Regions from separate parts of the Homo sapiens genome. Here all the other regions are linked to region 3. The links are contacts of gene promoters, found by promoter capture Hi-C in human tissues and cell types (Jung and others, 2019). All regions are on one chromosome and are shown on one strand. Each heading gives the region's core, a stretch centred on a gene start or on the middle of the fragment in contact. The rest is flanking DNA. Distances are from core to core; before and after follow the strand shown. Region 1 has its middle 300 kb from the start of MIR5702. Region 2 has its middle 260 kb from the start of MIR5702. Region 3 holds the start of IRS1 (insulin receptor substrate 1). Region 4 has its middle 130 kb from the start of MIR5702.

Region 1 (5,835 bases), core at 118-2,617, 440 kb after region 3:
TTACAATCAGAATTGTTCTTTAATAAACTCTTTCCTAACAGCTTAATACCCCTCACTCAATAATTACTTTCATAATCCATTTAAAGGGCAGGTAAGTATTATTCTCTGTATAAGATGAAGGAAAATGTGGTAAGTCACCAAATTTGAAAAGTGGTTGTTAAGGTTAAGGCAAAAAAAAATTAATGTTGACAATGTTAAAAATCAAACATAGAATAGACAAGAAAACATATTTAAAAACTCCTGTAGGCAGTGAAAAACGCTCCCTAGTTTTATTTTTAAGTACCTAGACAATTATAAAATGCCCTTCACCAAATTCCTGCATGCCTTCTATTTTTTATTTTCTGGAGAACAATTGGTGTGTACAGGCTACTTAAAAGGTCCAACCAAGGGGTTTTAGGTAGATGGAAGGGTGGTGTGTATATACTTTTGCTGTAGTAATGCACTCATCTAGACACCCTCTATACAGGTGAGATCTAAATGGCTTCTCAGCTCTGCAGTTGCCCTGCTCTACTTGCTTTCTTGAAACTGACAGCAACTCCAACAGCTCAGCAGTGGATGTAGCCTGTGAACTGCAGCTCAAGGGCAGTGGTGGGCATCTGTTCTCACTCTCTGGGTATGAGCCCTGTTTCCTTTTTGCTCCTGCATCTCATGTTTATGCAACATCTCTTTAAATAATTAATTGCTTCCATTAATGCTCCTCTGTTTAAAGTACCTAAAATAACTCAATTTTCCTGGATGGATGCTAAGCTTAATTTCAGCAGACTCATAGAAAATAAGTGATACTTCTTTTATCTTAATCATTAGGAACCATTCTACTGGCAAGTATTTTCAGAAGGCGTTTCTAGAACAGGTTGTAGCAGGTTTTCTTTAAACTGCTGGAGGTAGTTTAAAAGCTGTTACCAAGCAATACTTAATCAATTTCATTTATTCACTAAACATTTACTGGTTGCGTTTATTATATACATGTAACATTTATTCCTAGCTTTTAAAAACTTTTCTCTCACATTTCCTACTTAGTCTTAACTAGACCACAAAACAAGAATTTGTTCTGAAGTAGAAATAAGTGCTGGTTTTATTTAAAACCTCTAGTTTGCAAGGAATAAAGCAATTCTGATCACTCTAAGCAAAACAATAAGGCAATTAAAAATCTTGAAACTGTTGAAGGAACTTGAAACAGCTAGAAAATTGCCAAGCATCTGTAAACTTCTAAAGTATGTTTTGAAACATCACTGAAGAAAATAAACTTAAATTCTACAATGGACTTTGCAATCTGCTAACACCACTAGATAAGTGTTGCTTTCAACTTCTGCAAGGCTCATGGAAATCTCAGTGGTAGTGCAATGCATGGTTAGCCTGGAGAATAAGAGGCAGCTGCAGGGGACTAGAGACAAGTGGCCAAGAGGTACAAAGCCAGCCTACCTGAGCTTGAACCCTGGCTCTGCCAGTCATTACCTAGAGTTCTAGGGTATGGCTTTCTTATGCCTGAGACTGATGGCTAAAATTATAATTATTGAGTCAAACTCATAGGGTTGTAATGAGTATTACATGTAAAGTACTTAGAATAGTATCTGGGAGATAGTAAACATTCAATAAATGTTATTATTAACAATTATTATTATAGCAAGTTACCTGGAGTCTAATAAGTAATTTACCTCTGACCAATCACCCACTTCAAACTTGCTCCTCCCCCTTCCCTCTGTCTCTTTTTTTCTTCCTTCTTTCTTTCCTTCCTCCCTCCTTCCCTTCCTTTCTTCCTTTCTCCCTTTCTCTTTCTCTCTCCTCTCTTTCCTTTCTTTGTTCCTTATTTCCTTCCTTCCTTCCTTCCTTTGCATCCTCTTTGCTTCCTTTCTTCACTCCCTCTCTGTCCTCCTCCTTGTTTGCAATTCTGTCTTTCTGTTGGCTTTTACCTTCTTCCTCCCTCTCTTCTTCCCTTCCTTCCTTCTTTCCTCCTTTCCTCTCCTTCCTCTTTTCTTTCCTTCCTTCTTTCTTCACTCTCATTCTGTCCTCCTCCTCTGTTTGCATGTTATTCTTTCTGCTGGCCTTCTCTCTCCATCACTCCACTGTCTCCATTTGTCTGCTTCTATCACCCCACCTCTATTTTTCCCCACCATCTTCCACTGATGGCCATCAGTCTCATTAGTGTCCTTCTTTAGTTTGTTATGATCTGTTTAAAATGCATATTTCATTACTCACTTGTTTTAAATAATCTAAAATTTTTATACCTCTGGATTAAAAAGATAAGTAACAGTAGGCAGGAGAAATGTTTTACTTCTTTAAAAGCAAATCCCTGAGATCTAACTGAAACCATTTTAGACATGCCACTGCCCAGGTTGGCAGCAGCAAATGGAGATTTCTTCCCTTTCATTATGATAAAACATCAAGGGCTTCCTAGCAGGAAAGAGAGACAGAGGAATTAGGACTTCTACAGGCTCTAATAGATTAGCACCTGCAGTCTGAGCTTCGCTCAAATACAGAGGAAATTGGACTGGGCACAGTGACTCATGCCTATAATCCCAGGACGCTGGGAGGCCGTGGCGGGTGGATCACTTGAGATCAGGAGTTCGAGACGAGCCTGGCCAACATGGTGAAACCCCAATTCTACTAAAAATACAAAAAAAAAAAAAAAAAAAAAGAAAAGTAGCCAGGCTTGGTGGCATGCACCTGTAGTCTCTGCTACTTGGGAGGCTAAGACATGAGAATCGCTTCAACCTGGGAGACAGAGGTTGCAGTGAGCCGAGGTCACGCCACTGCACTTTATCCTGGGTGGCAGAGCAAGACTCTATCTCAAAACCAACTAACCAAACCAACCAACCAACCAACCAACCAACCAACCAACCAACCAACCCTCCCAAAACATAGGAGATTGGTCAGTGCACAAGACTCTGGGGCCAGATCCCCCAGGCAGCTCACAGCACTAAGCAGGGGCCTGGCTGAGTAGAGATCTGACTTGGAGGGCAGCCATGGCCAGGCAGTTGCAGGGAGATTTCCTGTTGTGGGGGAAGGGGAGAACTAGAGGCCCTCCCAGGGATTTTCTGAGGCTGGGAATCCTGTGTCTGTTAGGTAAGCATATCTGTAGTGACACATCTGTCTCTACTTGCCTGTATTTCAGAGCAATTAAGGAGACTTTAAACATAAGTGAGGATAGAATGACCAAGAAAAACTCAAGTGCATTCCAAGGCCCATGGTGTCATGCATGCTTGGGAAGGCCAATATCCTTGTGCATTTGTTCACTTATTTAGTGGAAGGTCCACTAGAATATGGGCAAAAGGAGTCACTTGGTAGACAGGAAACTTTTTATTAAGAGATACCTATGATGAAGCTACTTTATAAAAAGTCAGAATTATTTCTTGTATGAAATACTTATATCACTTTTAATAACACATAATGATCCTTATGATAATATAAACAGAAGTGAAATCTGAATGGGAACAAAATTTTATTTTCCTTCCCTCATTGAAAAGCCTCCCACTTTGTAGCTACTTCTTTTAGGGTTGTTACAGAATGATACACAGCCTATCTCTGTCACCCGGTATGTGGAATTCTTAGAATGAAAACCTGTGTAAGTACCAGAGCTCAAATACTTAACAGAATAATTACAGTGTAACCAGTGTTTCCACTTCCTTATATGTTATATTTTCATCAGCATTCTTAATAAAATGACAATTGAAGAAGCTGACTGAAAAGCCACTATCTTTGAGAACTCCTGGTCTTGAATTCCCTCGTGTTTCTGACATTTATAACGTTGCTTGCAGGACACTTTCATCCACTGTACTAGTTTGCATCTGTAGAGTGTATTTAGCTTCATAAAGCTCTTTTATATGCATCATATGATTTTGCATTTGTGGACTACTTTAGTGTTTATGAAGCACAGTCACCTAAATGGTATCATTTGAGTTTCACAACAATCTTGGTGTATTCATGAGGGGCCAACTGGAAATCGGCAATTTTAAAATATCCCCAGGTTGCAAAGGTAAGAGGGAAGAGGTAACCTGCTCTTGTAATGAAGCCACATTAGAAACCTGGGCTTCTCATTCCTTTTCCTGCAGGAAACCACCAACCAGTACAAAAAACCTTTGCAGATTTATGCAAAGAGGGAATGATGCACAGAATCTCGAACAGAATTTATGACAAAATTTCCACAAGCTGGGTGCAGCCCTAAGCGTAAGTCAGGGTAGGAGTGTCGCCCTTTTCCACGTTAAATCATTCCAGCTATATGAAGCACATTAAGATGACAACTGCAGGACACGGCCTTGATTTAGAACTGAGCCACACACCTGTTCATCTAAATATAAACAAATTTGTAACCTGAGCTCATGGCAGTCACTTGATGGTGAGCAAGTGAAAGCTGGGGCTGGTGCCTGCCTGCAGCCTGGCTCTGGGCTCACAAATGCACAAGGGCCAAGGAAGCACCCTGCCAACAGGATATTTGGCATTGTGTCTGGTGGTCACAGTGATCTTCTATCTCACCAGAGAGATTATAATTATTATCCTTCTTATCCGTATTGTTATTTTTAAGTGTGCTTAGTTTGCTCTTGTGGCTCCTCTTGTACCCAGCTTGTTGAATGTTCCAGGCCTTCTTGGTTCATATATGTGCAAGTTGCCTGAGTTGCTGTGTTTAAAGAAAGCGTTCTCTCAGGGAACTTGTTTGCTGGGCTCCAAAACACTGAATTAAATCTTACTGTCTATGTGAAGGCAATATTCTTTCAGGTTATAAAGTCCTTGATTATTCAAAGTAGGTAACTATTTCTTGATACTATCTATCATGCCTCTTTCTGTTGTTGCTCCAAGGGAAAGAGACCATGCTGAGTCCCTTGGAAAAGTTGCACATTATCCTTTACGGGTGGGATACTACAGAGGCAATGCAGATGACAGTAATCCAGTGGCAGGCATGTCACTGTGCATGTGGTAGAACTGGACAGAACTGGGACACTTGATTGGTCTGATTGGCCAAAGCATATGATTATCAGCATGTTCTGAAAGCATTATTTCTAGATGCAAAAAACCAGCAGATAAGTTTCTTAATTCTCTTTGAAAATAACTATGAATCTGTAATGCAATCCCAAAAGATTTGCATGTTGAAAATTTTAAACACACAGAAAAGCACCAAAGAAATTTAAAAAGTGTTTCCATTTTTTGGTTTACTTATATGCCCCCCACCCATACCTTGTAATTTTGTGAATTTCACCAAAATATCTTCTAATATGAATAAATGTCTTTGAATTCTTGTGATAAACCTTGAGTATGGTAAAATAGACGTATTTCGATATAAATGGAGATGTAGAGATCGATGTATAAATGTAGATAGGTCTAGCAGTAGTGACCATAGAGGTGTGTAGATCAGTTCTTCCATTGAGAGTTCAGGCTACAATGAGTAGCTGGCAGACACCCTCACCTGCCACCAATTTGGATTCTTCTTATTCACTCAGTGGCCACGCTGTCACTGGTCTGCTCTCAGCCAATGTCCAAGTGTGGCAGGAGTGTGGGCTGTTTTTGTCCCATCCTCCACCAAAAGAGTGAATCAAAACAAAATTGCAGCCCAGGGGAATGGTAAAGCTTAATGCTACCATTGAAAGCCTGGAAGATGCAAGGGTGGTGGTCCCCATTATATTCCCACTTCATTCACAGTCCGGCCCTTGCAGAAGCTAAATGGACCCTAAAGAATGGCTACAGATAAGGTCAGCCAAGTATCCCTAATCACAGCTGCTGTACAGATGTGGTATCAGTGCTAGAGTAGATTTATCCAGGCCTCAAGTGTATGACATTTGGCCATTGATTTGTGGAATGTATTGTTTTCTGTTCCACTCAGAACAGATGGCCAGAAATAGTTCACATTCA
Region 2 (6,340 bases), core at 3,703-6,202, 400 kb after region 3:
TAATAGTTGACATTTACTTTGTATAGGTTTCATTCTAAGTCTCTTTTATGTTTATCAACTTGTTCAATAATCAGGACAACTCTCTGAGGAAGGTACTGTGGATCTCTGTTTTGCAGATAAGGAAATTGAGGCACAGAGGGCTTTAGGTTGAGGTCATATAGGTAGTGAGTGGCCAAACTGGGCTTTCAGCCTCAGCTCTCTGCAGAGTTTCTGCTATTAACCACTGAAATCTATTGTTTTTAGTAATTAGGAATATAATTTGAATGCTCCTTCTACTAAATTAGCTGTGTATTTTAGGAAAATTTAATCAGTGACAGAGAAGTATCTATAGGATTGTGACCAATAGAAAAATGGAGGAGACAGGCATGAACTTTACATTTAATGGGCATTTTACTTTGTGCATGTCTTATTTCTCTGGTTTGGTTTCTTCATCTATGAGACAGGAATAATGATATACACTTCACCAGGTGATTTAAAAAAGCCAATAAGATAACTTAAGATTAGGTATTTGTAATCTGCAAAGAAGCTTTTGTGAAGAAGAAGTTATAATTAATACAAAACTCAAGGCATGTGCATCCCGCTTCTGCTGCACTAAAAGTGTTCACTTCTTTGTAGCTTCTGTTTTTCTTGATAGTGGAAGTCAATTAAAACTCTATGTCCAAGTTAAGATGGAGCCATTTTAAATGCCAAGAGACTGTTAGGAGTTGCTGAAGTATTACTGAATTTGTATTTTTTTCTTTTACAAACAACTGGGTTGTAATAAATATTTTGGCCTCTTTCCCTGGTTAAAATAATCAATTTGATCCATTTCTATTTCTCCAAGCATCTTAATGTTACGTGCTTGATAACTTGAGAAATTTTGGAAGGTCTACCACTAACAATTTCATTAGAAGGGATTATGGTGTCAATTCAAAGAAAGAATCTCATTTAAATATCTATTTAGCCCAGTATTTCCCTGACACTTTTTTGTAAATAATGTGACAGGAATGAATAAAGCAAGTGAACTTCCTCAAGAGTTAAGCATGCTTGCAGACAGATCTTTAAGCTTTTTTGTACCATTGGCTGGGTAAGTATGGTGATAGTTGGGTATTATCGGAGGAAAGAGAAGTGTCTTCAATTCAGACTTCTCAGAGGAGGTGAGATTTGATCTGAGATTGAGAGAAGAGGGAGACAGCACAGCAGTGGTGGGGTGGAAATGTGTCCTGTCCAAGGGCTCAGCATGCACAGTGGAAGGGAGATAAGAACCATCTTGCCATTTGAGAGACTGAAGCACTTAGTATGCCTGGAATGAGGGACTTAAGAGAGAGTAGGAAGAGACCAGATTAGGAATATTGGCAGATCTAGACCTTTAGTGCTGATAGGGTTTGGCTCTCTGTCCCCATCCAAATCTTACCTTGAGTTGTAATAATTCCCACATGTCAAGGGCAAGACCTGGTGGAGATAATTGAATCATGGGGGTGGTTCCCCCATGCTGCTCTCATGATAATGCATGAGTTCTCACAAGATCTGATGGTTTTACAAGGGGCTTCCTCCTTCACTTGGTACTCATTCTCTCTCCTGTCACCCTGTGAAGAGGTGCCTTCCACCATGATTGTAAGTTTCCTGAGGCCTCCCCAGCCATTCAGATCTGTGAATCAATTAAACCTCTTTTTAAAATAAATTACCCAGTCTTGAGTATTTTTTCCCAGCAGCATGAGAATGGACTAACACAAGTGCCTTGGGCACTCACCTCCTGTTAGAACTTGATCCTAAAATCTGCAGGGAGTCATTGAAGGATTTATCACAGTTTTATTACCAGATTGTCAATTAGAAAATATCACTGTGGCAGTACAGTAAAGGAAAAGTGCCAATCCTGGAGGCAAGAATGGAGAGAAGACTTATGTACTAATCCAAGTGAATTGTGAGGAGGGTAGATATAAGAGATATGAAAGATGGAATCCTTTGATTTGGTGATTGCTTGAGGGTAGGGGAGGATTGAAAGGGTATAGTCTTGAGTGGTTCCTAGGTTTCTAGCCTGGGCAATTGGAAATGGATGGTAGGATCATTAGCTAGGATAGGACAAGAAGGGAGAAGCAGTCATGCTTAGGAGGGTTTGAATATTTTTAAAATTCAGGATAGTAGTTTGGGATCTACATATGGGTTTGAAGGTATTCTCTTGCATCTTAGACTGAACTTCAGCTAGACAAGAAGAACGGGATCCTTGAAAGCTTAGATGCTCCCATTTGACCTCATTTGTCCCCTTTAGTTACACTTTTGATTTCTGTAGAGCATTGAGTATCAACTGTATTCTTTCCTCAAGATAGAATGAAGGCAACTAGCAATTAAGGCAATTATTCTCTTCCAAAAGACTGGTCTGGTCCTTGTGGAGGTATGCTTCATTGGCCTACCATAGACAGAATTCCAGGTAAGAGAACTTTGGTAATTTGGTCTTAGCTGATATTATGAATAGCATCAGCAGCAGTTTAGATGTAACATAATAAATATGAGGTTGGTGTAAGGAAGAAACAGAGATTTGTGTTGACTCTTACTGTAGACAAAACAGAAGAGATACTAGAATTTGACAGGACCCACGTGGCAGCCATGGGGTTATGTCTCTCATCTCTCTTTTCAATAGAATTGCTATAGGAAACAGAGTCATCTAGCAGCCTCTGGCTACCAGAACTTTGGGATCCATTGAGACATTCACAGCAAGGTCACTCTTGCCTCTGGCTGCTCTCAACCAATAACTAGGCAGGATGAGAGAACTGGACCCAGACCAGTTCTGCCAGACATGGGAGTCCTCTCCTGGTCATCCTTCGCTTAGGGGCTTTTATTAGCCCTACAAGATTTTTCAGAACCTCACTATGGTATGAGGCTCCTCCTACCCAATTATCTTCCCACTCTTCTTGCATAGATCATGTCAGACCTGCATTGTGCTAGACCAAAGGGAAGATGAGTTTGATGAAGCAGGGTTTGAATCCAAGTTTGGGAGAGAGTGGATTACAATAGGACTTGTATGTTGGCTAGAAGCCAAAAATGGCCAAGAAGAGGGAGATATGGGCACTGATGGGTCTAAAGATTTGGAGTGGAGCTTTGGTGTAAAGTTCTTTCTGTGGTAATAGAACACTGGGCCTAGGGAAGGATGTTGTTCTGTGTGTGGTCTGATCAGCAATCTGCAGCCATTGCTTATCATAAATATAGAACATTGATAAAATGTCTTTTAACTTGGCAAAGCTCAGAGTTGTTTAGAAAGAATAATGTAATTAGAACCTAATAAGATGTTGTCACCAATTCCTTTATGACTCATTGGATCTAATGAGCTCAAATATTTGCCAAATGGCTGCTAGTGCTCATCCATTTTCACATTCCCTTCTTCCTGGTCACACATCTAGACTACATGTTCCCGTCTTCCTTCCAATTTAGGTGCAGTCAAGTGACTGAGTTCCACCCAGTGGGGTTAACAGAAATGATGTGTATAGCTTATGGGTCTAGCCCACTAAAATTCCCAAAACCCCTTTCCCTAACTGCTGTTGGAATCAGGAGGTCTCTGAGGATGTGGTGGAGTGAGAGGCAAAAGGAGCTTAGAGCAGAGTCTTCTCTTCTCACTGCCCTCAAATAACTCACATTGCAGTGGGACATTAAACAATTAATTTTTATTGTGTTAAACTAGTGAGAATTGGGAGTTATTTGCTATAGCAGTGGTCTTACCTAACTGATACAGTATCTGTGGAAACTATGTTTGTTGTTTTGAGCATGTGGCAAGCTCTACAGAGGTTTGGAGCAAAGCCATGTTTTCTCAGCAAGTAATTGTTTTTTAAAGGAGACAGACCCTAGCTTGTTACTGGGACTTCATAGAGACAAAATGCAAGGTGACCATGCTATCCAAGCTATGTCCATCATGCATTCAGATTCATCTGATTGACTGAGCCATGAAGCCAAGCGTTGCCATGGGTGCTCCTTCATCAAGTAGAAGTTGAATTCATGGAACGTGACTCAAGCTTGTCCTGTTGGCACAAGGTGGCTAATAATCCCACAATGCCTATTTTGCCACACTGCTACTTCTTTCTCAAAATGCTATTATGGCCTCAAAAGCAGTTTCCAAATGACAGTGGAGAGAAAAACAGATTCATTTGAGATGATTTGCCATGACATGCTGGCACCAGTATCACAACCTGCTGCACGGTTGCTCCTGAGAGCAGTCGGAGAAGAGAAATCCTCCAGGTCCATAGAATTTTTTGTACTTACTAAATTTTGAGTTCATAGGTAAAGCAGATACCCTCAAAGCATATTCTCCACATTGTGAATAGTCTTTTAAATATTAATTGGATAATGTCACTTGCTTGTACAAAATTATTCTGTAGCTTACTATTATACTTCGAATAATTTTATACTCCTAACTTCTGTCTACAAGACCATGCAGGGTATAGCCCCGGCTGGACTCTAGAACTTCAGTTTGAACTCTTATTTATTTTGCTGCTCTAGCCACTGCCTTTATTTCAGTTCCCCAAAGCACAAAACTCTTGGCTCATTGAAGGTTCCTGTGCAGACCTTCACCTTGGCTAACTCACAGTATGGCTGGGCCTTTCTAATCATTCAGGTTTTAGCTTGTGACCCCCTCTGATAGATCCTCACTGATCTTTCAACATAAATTAAGCTTCCTCTGTTACTATACATTTTCCAACTTTTCTTTGGCTCTCTGTTCTTTTCCTTCATAGAAGGTACCACTATCTATATAATTGTTTATGTGTTATTTTACTTAAAAGTCTTTACTAAGTCATACATTCTGTAATAGTGAAGTCCATGTTTATTTTGTCCACCATGGGATGTAGAACACCTACACAATGCTTGGCTCATAGTGGGTAGATGAGAAACTTTGATTGAAGGAAAAAAAATGAACAACAACAAAAATGAATAAACAGCTATCCCATTTGGAAAGACATTAAGCAGAATGTGAGTCCCTAGGCCAAGTGCAAGTGTACAGGTACTGGGAGAGTCATTTGATTCAACAGAGCCATGGGGAAGAAAAAAAATAGAAAGCTGGTAGAACAAAATCAGTGATTCTGCCTGGGATGTGAAGAGGTAGGTAAGACACAGATATGGAGGATAGTGGAACAAGGAAGGTCTTATAGATATCATGGTCTAGCCAAAGATGAACAGAAACTTTCCCAGGCCCTCCAGTGGCACTTTGAAGGGATAGTTTACCTAACCCTGACTGGCTTCCTATATTCCTTCATTTTCTCATTCTTTCTTTTTCTTTTTCTAAACAAAGCAAGAAGACATAAAGCAACTAAAAAATTGAATTTTGGCTAAATTATTGAGGAAGATAAAGGTAATTCATAGCCAGTGAAATTTCCAGGAGCCTCCTAATTTATTCATTCAAGAAAAACAGTATATACATTACTGTTCACCAACAAAATAAAGATTAATTTTCCTAGTAACATGTTTAGTTTTTTTCCAGAAAAAACTATTGTAAAAATGTTTTTATAGGCCTAGACATTCTGGAAAATACAGCTTGTAATTAAAATCCTAATAGCATCAAGAGAGAAAATTCCAGATTTCCAACTGAAAGTCATCCCTTAAGCTGATTAAACATTAAAATCAAAGGAACACACACCCACATATAAAGAGCAGACACTAAAGGTCATAATTTTGAAGGTGAAAGATTAAAAAGTAGAATTTCCTGAGGGTGACTGGATATTACTGTTAATTTCAAAATACTTTTGGTTGCAGTTACTGTTTTCAAGATGCCAGAAAATCCTGTAGTCATTTCAATCACTTATGCTTAAAAATTTCCCCGTAGTAATAACATATTTGCTAGGACACTCTTACAAAAGGAATGATGAGAAGTTTTATTAAACATCTGTAGTAGATCTGTGAGATTAAAGAACTTGGCTGCTTTGTGATATGTTTATTCCTTTCTCCTTGTGACAAAGACATTTTCCTTACCAATATTAAAAAGAGTACTCCGATGTATATTTAAACTCAGGAGTTATACCTGTTTAAACAGCCAAATAAGACTCCCATAAGAAATTTGTTGTAATCATGGGTGTATCAGACAGCGTTATTAATGGCAAGCAACAGAAATGAGCTAATTTAAGTAGCAAAGAAATTTGTTAGGAAATACGTAACAGCTCATTAAGTCTTCAAGAGGACCAGAGTTCTGACTTGTGGGATATGCAATCAGGAGCAATGCCCTAAACTACACATAAAGCTATTACAGCATTACCACTGCACACAATCATGGCGCCCAGTGCCATCAACACCTTCTGGGCATTTCTGTCCCTACAAACTGGATGCAGGTGCTCATTCTGCTGCTTCTGCCCTGTCCCCAGTCCACCACAATGGATTCTATGTGGAGTCT
Region 3 (5,808 bases), core at 1,165-3,664:
TTTTTTAAAGCAGAAATGCTTTAACACTGAGAGATATATTTTTTAAAAGGTTTATTATCATAATTAGCTTTTTATGATCAAAATCCTTCCTATGAAGATAATTGTGAGGTACGTGCAAATAAATTTTCCAACCCTCCCCTCCTTCCAGAAAAGAGTATTTTTCCCCCATAGAGGTACAGTACCTTTATTTAGCTTTTTTTGGGGGGTGGGGGGTGGAGGGACGGAGGTAGGGACAGGGCCATTTGAAAAGTAAATGTCCATGGATTTGATTTGTTGTCTTACAAAATGTTAATTACTCCACTACCCCCATCCCAGCGCTAAACATCAAACCTGTGAAAAGCCCTTTGGCCTTATCTGGATTACATTGTTACTAGTAAACAACCCTTTTATAATCTCTCTTTTTTCTTGTCTAGGGTAAAACCAGGCACACAGTTACACTTTTCCACCAACTTCAGGCTTCTTTATTCTGCACCTCCCTGCCCTACCCCCTGTAAGGCACTCTATACCCCCAGAATTTCGGTCACTGTGAGTGCCGCCTCGCTTCCATTTCCAAATATCTGCTATTAATAGCCTTGCTGTAGTGGGCACGTGTGCCCACATCACCAAGCTGTCAGAGGAAAAGAAGGGAGGGCTTTCAATTCAACATGTGTACTCAAATTATAGATTAACCAGGTTTAGATGAGGCTGCATGACGACCGGGAACAGGAAGGGGAGAGGAGAAACGAGAGGCTCCCAGGCTTGGGTGGGGAGGAGCCCCTCTGCAGATGCCCAATCCCCCTAATTTACGTATCGCACACCCCTGAATGGCGCCTATGGTTCTTTTTCTCCTTCATCATCATCATCTTCTTTTTCTTTTTTTACTACGCTTTGCAACCTACCTTGGTACCCTCAACCCTTCTACCCCCACCTTCCCTCTGCAGTGCAAGGCTTGAAAAACAGGCCATCCCACCAATCAGCAGGCCTCCCCGGGAAACTCGCTCCGCCCCTCAGCCGCATTGGGCCGAGGCGCGCTCCCCCGCGGCCCGCCGGGTCCCAGCCACTGAGCATGCCCAGCGCCTCGACTGCTGAGTGCCCAGCCAGCATCCTGCAGTGCCTGGGAGCCTGAGGCCGAGGAGGGTCCCGGCGTAGTAAAGGGGCGGCAACCCCAAACGGGCCAGGCATCAAAATGAGACAGCATTAAACCGAGTGACATCTCTGTGGGTCCTTAGTGCCAGGCGAGCAAGCAGGGACAAACTGCTTGTTTATAGGTCGGCTTAAAAAATAAAAAAACTCTGGGGAGCGTTTGTTTGTGGGGAGACTGATACCGCAAGGTGACCCTGAAAGGGGCGCTTCAAGTAGACCCAGGCTGCTGATCTGGTCCACTCATGAAGTAACCATTTTCCTGTACAGTTGAGCTGGCACCATCCTTGTTTTCTCCCTGTTATCCTTGTGGTCAAGGTTAAAAACTTATAGGGTGGTTCAATGGGTGTGGGAGCTGTGTGTGAAACAAACATTTCAGCCAATATTTGCACAGTAGGGTTTTGGCCTTATGAACCCTCTGAAGGTCCCTAACAGCTTTTTAAAGTCACGGATAGACTTCGGAATATGATAAGGGACCTCTCATTTCCCCTCCCCCATGCCCTCAGCCTTAGGTGTGAGTCCCCCCGTCACACGGATGGGCAAGGGGAGCAGGAGAAAAGGTGATATTTACATTTTCTCCCTACTTGATCAGCAACTAATTCCACAGCGCCGGACGTGAGACACTTCCTGGGGATCCCTGTTCTCCTTTTGTAGTGACCATAACTGCCCCCAGTCACTGCCCTTGGGCGTCCCTCTGTTCCTTCCAGGTACCTCACGGCAGCAAATCTGGGGATCCCAAGGTGGAAGGCTGGCCCAGAAGTCCTTTAGAAAAACCTTAAAAAATACAGATCCCCTCACCATGGCCTATCGCCCTGAAGCCGAAATCTAGCTTTTAAATTTCCTGGGGGAAACAGCCTTGACTAGAAACCTCCCTCCCGTGGGTCAGTCTTACCTGATAGGTAAGAGGCAGCCCAGCTCCGGCGCCCCCGCCTCCCCCCGGCCTCCCACTCGGGGCTCTGTAGCCGCAGTGCCCCCCCGTGGCCCCCCACCCTCACTCCTGCGTCTTCCCGAGCTCGCCCCCTCCCGTTTTCCCAGACTCCCCTCGTGCTTTCGGGTAGCCACCCAAACACCCCCGCCTGCGCCCGCCGCGGGGATTCCTGCGGGCCGGGGGCGCCCCGGTTGGCGCGCGTGTAGGGAGGCGCTGCGCCGGAGCTGGCGGCCGCGCAGGGGCGCTGTCCTAGCGCTGCGCCGGGGTCGGCGCGGGCGCCGCTGCAGCACGGCTGGGGGGCGGAGAGGGGCGGGCGCGGGGCGGGCTCGGCCCGGAATGTAGAGACCCGGGCGGGAGCCTCCCGGCGGCGGCTGCCCGGCTGCCGAGCGCGGAGGCTCCGTCACGTGTTTTTCTCCTCCGAGTGAGACGGCGGCGCGGTCGGAGGGGGCCGGCGCGCAGAGCCAGACGCCGCCGCTTGTTTTGGTTGGGGCTCTCGGCAACTCTCCGAGGAGGAGGAGGAGGAGGGAGGAGGGGAGAAGTAACTGCAGCGGCAGCGCCTCCCGAGGAACAGGCGTCTTCCCCGAACCCTTCCCAAACCTCCCCCATCCCCTCTCGCCCTTGTCCCCTCCCCTCCTCCCCAGCCGCCTGGAGCGAGGGGCAGGGATGAGTCTGTCCCTCCGGCCGGTCCCCAGCTGCAGTGGCTGCCCGGTATCGTTTCGCATGGAAAAGCCACTTTCTCCACCCGCCGAGATGGGCCCGGATGGGGGCTGCAGAGGACGCGCCCGCGGGCGGCGGCAGCAGCAGCAGCAGCAGCAGCAGCAACAGCAACAGCCGCAGCGCCGCGGTCTCTGCGACTGAGCTGGTATTTGGGCGGCTGGTGGCGGCTGGGACGGTTGGGGGGTGGGAGGAGGCGAAGGAGGAGGGAGAACCCCGTGCAACGTTGGGACTTGGCAACCCGCCTCCCCCTGCCCAAGGATATTTAATTTGCCTCGGGAATCGCTGCTTCCAGAGGGGAACTCAGGAGGGAAGGCGCGCGCGCGCGCGCGCTCCTGGAGGGGCACCGCAGGGACCCCCGACTGTCGCCTCCCTGTGCCGGACTCCAGCCGGGGCGACGAGAGATGCATCTTCGCTCCTTCCTGGTGGCGGCGGCGGCTGAGAGGAGACTTGGCTCTCGGAGGATCGGGGCTGCCCTCACCCCGGACGCACTGCCTCCCCGCCGGGCGTGAAGCGCCCGAAAACTCCGGTCGGGCTCTCTCCTGGGCTCAGCAGCTGCGTCCTCCTTCAGCTGCCCCTCCCCGGCGCGGGGGGCGGCGTGGATTTCAGAGTCGGGGTTTCTGCTGCCTCCAGCCCTGTTTGCATGTGCCGGGCCGCGGCGAGGAGCCTCCGCCCCCCACCCGGTTGTTTTTCGGAGCCTCCCTCTGCTCAGCGTTGGTGGTGGCGGTGGCAGCATGGCGAGCCCTCCGGAGAGCGATGGCTTCTCGGACGTGCGCAAGGTGGGCTACCTGCGCAAACCCAAGAGCATGCACAAACGCTTCTTCGTACTGCGCGCGGCCAGCGAGGCTGGGGGCCCGGCGCGCCTCGAGTACTACGAGAACGAGAAGAAGTGGCGGCACAAGTCGAGCGCCCCCAAACGCTCGATCCCCCTTGAGAGCTGCTTCAACATCAACAAGCGGGCTGACTCCAAGAACAAGCACCTGGTGGCTCTCTACACCCGGGACGAGCACTTTGCCATCGCGGCGGACAGCGAGGCCGAGCAAGACAGCTGGTACCAGGCTCTCCTACAGCTGCACAACCGTGCTAAGGGCCACCACGACGGAGCTGCGGCCCTCGGGGCGGGAGGTGGTGGGGGCAGCTGCAGCGGCAGCTCCGGCCTTGGTGAGGCTGGGGAGGACTTGAGCTACGGTGACGTGCCCCCAGGACCCGCATTCAAAGAGGTCTGGCAAGTGATCCTGAAGCCCAAGGGCCTGGGTCAGACAAAGAACCTGATTGGTATCTACCGCCTTTGCCTGACCAGCAAGACCATCAGCTTCGTGAAGCTGAACTCGGAGGCAGCGGCCGTGGTGCTGCAGCTGATGAACATCAGGCGCTGTGGCCACTCGGAAAACTTCTTCTTCATCGAGGTGGGCCGTTCTGCCGTGACGGGGCCCGGGGAGTTCTGGATGCAGGTGGATGACTCTGTGGTGGCCCAGAACATGCACGAGACCATCCTGGAGGCCATGCGGGCCATGAGTGATGAGTTCCGCCCTCGCAGCAAGAGCCAGTCCTCGTCCAACTGCTCTAACCCCATCAGCGTCCCCCTGCGCCGGCACCATCTCAACAATCCCCCGCCCAGCCAGGTGGGGCTGACCCGCCGATCACGCACTGAGAGCATCACCGCCACCTCCCCGGCCAGCATGGTGGGCGGGAAGCCAGGCTCCTTCCGTGTCCGCGCCTCCAGTGACGGCGAAGGCACCATGTCCCGCCCAGCCTCGGTGGACGGCAGCCCTGTGAGTCCCAGCACCAACAGAACCCACGCCCACCGGCATCGGGGCAGCGCCCGGCTGCACCCCCCGCTCAACCACAGCCGCTCCATCCCCATGCCGGCTTCCCGCTGCTCGCCTTCGGCCACCAGCCCGGTCAGTCTGTCGTCCAGTAGCACCAGTGGCCATGGCTCCACCTCGGATTGTCTCTTCCCACGGCGATCTAGTGCTTCGGTGTCTGGTTCCCCCAGCGATGGCGGTTTCATCTCCTCGGATGAGTATGGCTCCAGTCCCTGCGATTTCCGGAGTTCCTTCCGCAGTGTCACTCCGGATTCCCTGGGCCACACCCCACCAGCCCGCGGTGAGGAGGAGCTAAGCAACTATATCTGCATGGGTGGCAAGGGGCCCTCCACCCTGACCGCCCCCAACGGTCACTACATTTTGTCTCGGGGTGGCAATGGCCACCGCTGCACCCCAGGAACAGGCTTGGGCACGAGTCCAGCCTTGGCTGGGGATGAAGCAGCCAGTGCTGCAGATCTGGATAATCGGTTCCGAAAGAGAACTCACTCGGCAGGCACATCCCCTACCATTACCCACCAGAAGACCCCGTCCCAGTCCTCAGTGGCTTCCATTGAGGAGTACACAGAGATGATGCCTGCCTACCCACCAGGAGGTGGCAGTGGAGGCCGACTGCCGGGACACAGGCACTCCGCCTTCGTGCCCACCCGCTCCTACCCAGAGGAGGGTCTGGAAATGCACCCCTTGGAGCGTCGGGGGGGGCACCACCGCCCAGACAGCTCCACCCTCCACACGGATGATGGCTACATGCCCATGTCCCCAGGGGTGGCCCCAGTGCCCAGTGGCCGAAAGGGCAGTGGAGACTATATGCCCATGAGCCCCAAGAGCGTATCTGCCCCACAGCAGATCATCAATCCCATCAGACGCCATCCCCAGAGAGTGGACCCCAATGGCTACATGATGATGTCCCCCAGCGGTGGCTGCTCTCCTGACATTGGAGGTGGCCCCAGCAGCAGCAGCAGCAGCAGCAACGCCGTCCCTTCCGGGACCAGCTATGGAAAGCTGTGGACAAACGGGGTAGGGGGCCACCACTCTCATGTCTTGCCTCACCCCAAACCCCCAGTGGAGAGCAGCGGTGGTAAGCTCTTACCTTGCACAGGTGACTACATGAACATGTCACCAGTGGGGGACTCCAACACCAGCAGCCCCTCCGACTGCTACTACGGCCCTGAGGACCCCCAGCACAAGCCAGTCCTCTCCTACTACTCATTGCCAAGATCCTTT
Region 4 (5,847 bases), core at 2,602-5,101, 270 kb after region 3:
GCTAGACACAGAGTATATTTTTCCCTAGTCCTGATGTTCTTTAATCTTAACACAGCAACAGATTGCAAGATTTATTTTCCCCAGTAGAATCGACTGCAAGTTAGAACCACTTTGTTTTCTTGAATTCCACGTACAGCAGCACTCTGTCTTGGGAAACGAAGCTAGAATTGAGTGGGGTTGTGGGGGGTGGGGGAAAGCACATCTTGGTGAACTATACAGTCCTCGGCAAAAGTGGTTTCCACCCAGGCTGATACAAATCAAGATGGGAGTATGATCCTTCACAACTAATTGATAAAAGATTTCTCGGTGCACCCTATGAATCATTGGCTCCCATAAACGAAAACAGGGGCTTGTGTGGCATTGCAAGGCAGGGAAATCTCCGGACTACCACGACTAATTATGGAGCAGCTTCATCCATAGGGCAATGGAGCTCACAGACAATTTAGGAAAAAAAAATGGTTTGTTACATATGGCCTTTGTCCTTGTAAAAATCTATTATTTCATACAGTGCGTTTTACTACATTGCTAATACGATTGCATCATGTAGCTGCATTTTTGGGGCGTGCTCAAAGACCAGTGCTTTTAGCAGCATAAAGTCAACCAGAGCCCATGTAACTCAAACTTTGATTTTAATTCTCCCAGATGCTTTTGTACATATGCCAAATTCGATGTCATTTTGAAAGCTTGCATTTTAATGAGTATTTATTTATTTATTTAAATCAATGATTGGAATCTCAGAAGGTTTTTGACGATGTTGGTATTTTTTAGTTTTCAAGCAGATGATACAGTATTCTGTGAGAAGCCTTCCACCACTACCCCTACCGCACGCAAAAGAACCCCTGTGAATTTGAATTTTATTCACTAATTAGAGGTCTTATCTATGACAATAAATGTGTTGATTTTATTATATGTTTAGTGAACACACTTAGCCATAGAAAGCTGAAATACTAGCCATGATGGGATGTTCTTTATCATTTCAAATAACAACATTTTGGCCATAAATAGAATCATCAAGCTGGCCATTTGTGACTATGGGTTTAGCTCACTAGATATTGGCAACAGAGAGAGGTAAAAGTGTTTCATACTGAAGCATGTAAATGATAGGTGTCTTATTTATTTTCACAAAAACAAACACAACTTTAACAGGCAAGGATTTCTCAATTTAAATTTAAATTTCCATTTCATTTCCCCCTGTAAAGGATAAGGTATTTATTTTGGCTACCTATGCTTAGGTAGTTTTGAAGCCATGAAAATGAATGCTTGGACAGGAAAACACCATCTTTTTAAAAAAGAAATTCAGTCCTCAACATCTACACTGAATTATAGGCAGATCTTGCTTAATGTACACTAAAATATGGAAGCATCTATATTATTTGAGATAATTTAATATGGCATAATTAATATAGCATATCAATATAGTAGTTCATTTACATATGTGTAATTTTCATTACAAGGTTTCATTTGTTCCGTTAAGGATATAAATGTGGAATGAAAAACATTTCTATAGGGCAAGGTGAAGTCCATGTGTTTTGCATAAGTGGGTAGTCATGAAATAAAGCCCTCTTTGGAAGCATGCTGTTAACATGACATTTATTACCTCTTCACATGTAGCTTGAACCTGCTCCTGCCACCACACTGAGTGAAAAAAAAAAAAAAAGAAAACAAAGAAGGCAATAAGACAGGGGAAAAGGCAGAAGTTGTTTTCACCTCTTGCAGAATACCTGCAGTAGCTCTCTTTTTCCTTCTTGCATTTTGGCATTGAACCCCTAGAGATAACAACAAATGGCCCCTTCATTAGTCATTATGTTTTGCTCTATTTTGCCTTTGGAACAACATTGCCATTTTCTGGTGGAAAACACAGTTTGTAACCATCTGTAATAGAAATCAGTATGACTGTTTAGGAATAAAAGCCAGAAAGCCTAGGACTAGGGTGACAGTGAGCTCTCCAACCAATGCCACTCTTCGGAGCTGTTCCACCTCTAGTAAGAGTGGCTTACTAAGTAGCCCTGTGTCATTCAGTCATTGGCTGGGAGCAGCTTGTGAGAAGCAAGGCTTTGGATCAAAAGTGGTGGTAGATTCTGGACATTGCAGCTGGAGACATCAATCAAGTACTTTCCTTATTGTGATAGATCGAGTCACATTTTCATGGCTGCCATGTCAATTAAAAGTCCTGTGATTCCAAAGCTCCATTGTTTAAAATGAGTTTGGCCTCACTATAATTTAAAGAGTTCAGGAATTTGAGTACTGGGAATGCTTAAAGGTTAGGTTGAAGAGTATGTTGGACAGAAGTCTTGATTATAAAAATTTGAAGCCCAACTCACAGTACCCTAAGGAAAAGAAAATGCATTTATGGTCTCATGTATGTAACTGAAGAATCAAAGGTAGTTGTGATATCTTTTAGGGATAGGTGGGCTGGGAGGTCAGATGATGTTTTTCGTTCCATCTTCAGCTCTGTTTTCCACTTTATTGGCTTTTCCTCAGGTATGTTTCACATTCTCTTTCCTAGACATGTTTTCCTTATAGTTATTGACACCAGAGAAGAGAGAAACCCTCCTCTCTGATAGTGCCAGCAAAAGCCCTTGGACGGACACTCTTTGGCTCGGTATGGATCAAAGTCCTTGCCAAAACCAATTGCTTGACTTGAGAACGCTATTCTCTGATTGGTTGAATTTAGCCATGTGTTTAGCCTTATGCCAGGAGAGGGGAGTAGAATCAAATCATAAATACCTGGCCAAGTGGAGGAGCAACACTTGTTAACAAACAAAAACAAAATGATGCTGGGTAAACAAAAGTGTTCACCAAAGAGGAGATTTTTCTTCTCAAAGCTTCAGTGATGGTGGTGATTTTTGAGATGGGTTGATTATGGGTGAAAAAGCTAAGAAGTTTGATGGTTGGCTGAGGATACAGTGCTTTAAAAAGATGTTGACTGAGAAAGCAGATGAAATCAGTGGTAGAGTGTTGAATCTGGGGCCCTTTCAGGCAGGATAAAGCCCATAGATTACATATCCCCTACACTGCTGTTACTCTTTGCAATTTAACTTAGAACATCAAAATATATCTTCAGGCAGCATGCCTTCTAGGAATAGACATTATATGGCACGTTAAAACCTAACTAGATAACAGAATTCTAGAAATTCAGAGAGAGAAGAAATACCATGGGCTTTTCCCTCAGTATATTGCTCTTTGGGGCAGAAATGTTTTAAAATTTGTTTTCCAGAATATTTGAGTTCATAATTATAAGTTTGGCTCAGCAAAGTTTATCTTCAAATACATGAGATTTTATAGTAGTTTTTGGATCCCAAGTAGGCTTGTTCTGTGTTTACCTCCTTTAAAGTTCAAGGTGTTGACTGACTAATCTGATAAATAAAACTCTTGGGTGCTATGTTCATAATGTTCTGGGAAAGAAACTTCTTGGGTGTGTATTTTACCTAGTGTCTTCCTGGAACAAGTCTCAATGTTTCTTTTATAACTAATTTGCAGAGTCAGTCGTGGTACTGAGTAAGACTAGCAGTTGGAATATCTGTGTCCTGGATCATGGCTCACTGTTGTGTGTCCTTAGGCAAACCTTTATCTTTTTAAGTGAAATGGGGTTAAAAATACATTTCTTAAAGAATTATTAAGCTAATCAATTGAAAGAATGCACGGGACGCTGTACCCAGCTATATAACGTGAGCGTTGTCGTCACATTGCTCTCAGGGATGGGAAATTCAGGCCAAAGGTGGGGATATAATAGAATCATCAATTTTCTTTCTTTCAAATTGTTACACACAGGATGGAATCTTTCTGCCTACACCCTGGGTGGCTTCTGCCCTTTAGCATGCTCCAAATAAGAGCTGGGCTTTTACAATTCAGAATTCAGGCAAACCTCCTCATCCCATGGGTGGTTCTATGAAGAGACCCTCTTACATTCACTTCTCTTTGTTTCTGTAATTGTCAGTTTCTAATTTATTTCCTTTGAGAGAGAGTTTATCTCCCCATCAACTCATTAGTGATTTAATATGAAGTAAGCTGATTATAGGCAATCTGAACAGCCAATGTTCACACTGCAGAGAAATCAAGCTAATAATGCCTCTCAAGAATACATTTGACATTTGAACAACATGAGAGTTACGGGTGCCAACCACCCTGTGCAGTTGAAAATCCACATGTAACATACTTTTGACATTCCCAGAACTTAACTACAAATGGCCTGCTGTTGACCAGAAGCCTTCCCAATAACATAAATGTTTATGAATAAATATTTTGTGTGTTATATGTATTATGTACTATATTCTTACAATAAAGTAAGCTGGAGAAAAGAAATGTTAAAATCATAAGAGATAATATATTTACTGTTCATTAAGTGGAAGTTTATCATCATAAAGGTCTTCATCCTTGTAGTCTTCACATTGAGTAGGCCAGGGAGGAGAAGGAGGTGGGGGTTGGTCTTGCTATCTCAACATGTATAAGTGGAATTGAGATGCTTTAACCCATGGTGTTCAAGGGCCAACTATTTTTCTCCTGGACCTATCATGTCAGCTGATCCTATTAGATTTTACATGTGGTCTTTCCAGAGGAAAAAAAAAAAGAAATCATGAAGCTATCTATATATTTAGAAAGAAAGGAAACCAGAATGTTTATATATTGCCACTTGGTTCTGAATCTGTTACTTGATTGGAATATCCCAAGATTCAGTCTGAATAAGAATGTGAGATAACATTACTAAACGGTTCAGGGAGTAGTTGGAGAAGGTAACTAAATTGTAAACAAAGAAGATTCACACTGGGTACCCAGGGAGAAATGAAGGAATTTGAAACCCATCCGAATCCTTTCCTTTTAGTCTGTCTCCAAGAGGCTAAAACATCTGGTGAATCACGTCAAAGATTCAATCAATCATTCCTGTGTTTGGATTTTATGATGCCAGACATCTGGATCAACTGAGTTTCTCTTTTCTTTAATTGAATCAACTGGATGTTTTGGCTTCCTGCAAAGTCAGCTTCAGTCTAAATAATACACATCATAGTCCTATGTCCTATTTGTACTCTGACTCAATTTTGATACATTTTGTTTTGGTTTTAATTTGTGTTAACATAACTTATAGATTTAAATAGTTTTGCATATTGTATAATATTTTGGGCATTAATATGAAAGTCTTAATAAATAAATCAGAAAAACAAAATCAACTGTTTTACTCTTTTCTGGAAGGCACCCTGGATGTTGGCACTGATAAATGGAAGTTGAGAGGGCTAAAGAACAATGTTAAATAATTACACAGATAGGGCTCAGCAGAGATCAAAATATCCTCTCTGATGTAAAGACAGCTGGCACCGACAGTAATTTTAACTGTGTGTAACAAGAACACACAATTTATATAATTTATGCGTTCCTAGGTTTTTTAGTGCATAGGAATTTGGTCTGGTTTTATGTTATTTTCAAATATCCTTTGCTTTCTTATCTGGAAAGGCTTCTGGGCAACTTAATGACTGGAGGAGATTTAAAAAGAGATGAAAAGAAACCATGAACACATACTGGTTTAATGAAATATCATATTTTCTAGGAGAGAAATCAAACCTCAAAATAGACAAAACAATGTTTATTGCTCTAAATATACGACATGAAACAACAGAAGACTTTTGGAATAACATCTTATACCTTACTCCTTTATGATGTTTTTGTGGGGCCTGCCTAATACACAAGTCAAAAATGGATGCTGCTTTCTCATTTATGGTGATTCTGTTCTTTGATTTTAAAGAAATAAAAGACTAATAGAGAATAAAGTAGTGTCTTTGTACAACTGTAGTTAATTCATTGGTCTTTTGAAAGACCAATTAATTAGGATTTCATGATTTTATTATAACCATTTGGGCC

The links. Contacts are between HindIII fragments. The study calls those that stand out against the background at their distance.
Region 1: a fragment that was not itself captured here is called in contact with the fragment with the promoter of IRS1 in region 3 in 1 of the 25 tissues and cell types used here (mesendoderm cells).
Region 2: a fragment that was not itself captured here is called in contact with the fragment with the promoter of IRS1 in region 3 in 1 of the 25 tissues and cell types used here (heart left ventricle).
Region 4: a fragment that was not itself captured here is called in contact with the fragment with the promoter of IRS1 in region 3 in 1 of the 25 tissues and cell types used here (mesenchymal stem cells).

The regions. Positions count from the first base shown.
Region 1 is chr2:226,351,865-226,357,699 of GRCh38, reverse strand. No RefSeq gene overlaps it. Among named protein-coding and RNA genes, the nearest start is that of MIR5702, 300 kb to the left of the region's middle. The HindIII fragment of the contact is 3,567 bases long and covers 1-3,150 here.
Region 2 is chr2:226,396,184-226,402,523 of GRCh38, reverse strand. No RefSeq gene overlaps it. Among named protein-coding and RNA genes, the nearest start is that of MIR5702, 260 kb to the left of the region's middle. The HindIII fragment of the contact is 3,720 bases long and covers 3,093-6,340 here.
Region 3 is chr2:226,796,426-226,802,233 of GRCh38, reverse strand. IRS1 (insulin receptor substrate 1) reads left to right here and starts at 2,414. Exons shown (of 2, transcript NM_005544.3): 1 at 2,414-5,808. The coding sequence starts at 3,496. It also overlaps a transcript of RHBDD1 not described here. RefSeq lists silencers at 876-1,085, 2,046-2,115, 2,136-2,555, 3,546-3,595 and an enhancer at 4,326-5,275. The HindIII fragment of the contact is 12,102 bases long and covers 1-5,808 here.
Region 4 is chr2:226,525,962-226,531,808 of GRCh38, reverse strand. No RefSeq gene overlaps it. Among named protein-coding and RNA genes, the nearest start is that of MIR5702, 130 kb to the left of the region's middle. The HindIII fragment of the contact is 4,194 bases long and covers 1,755-5,847 here.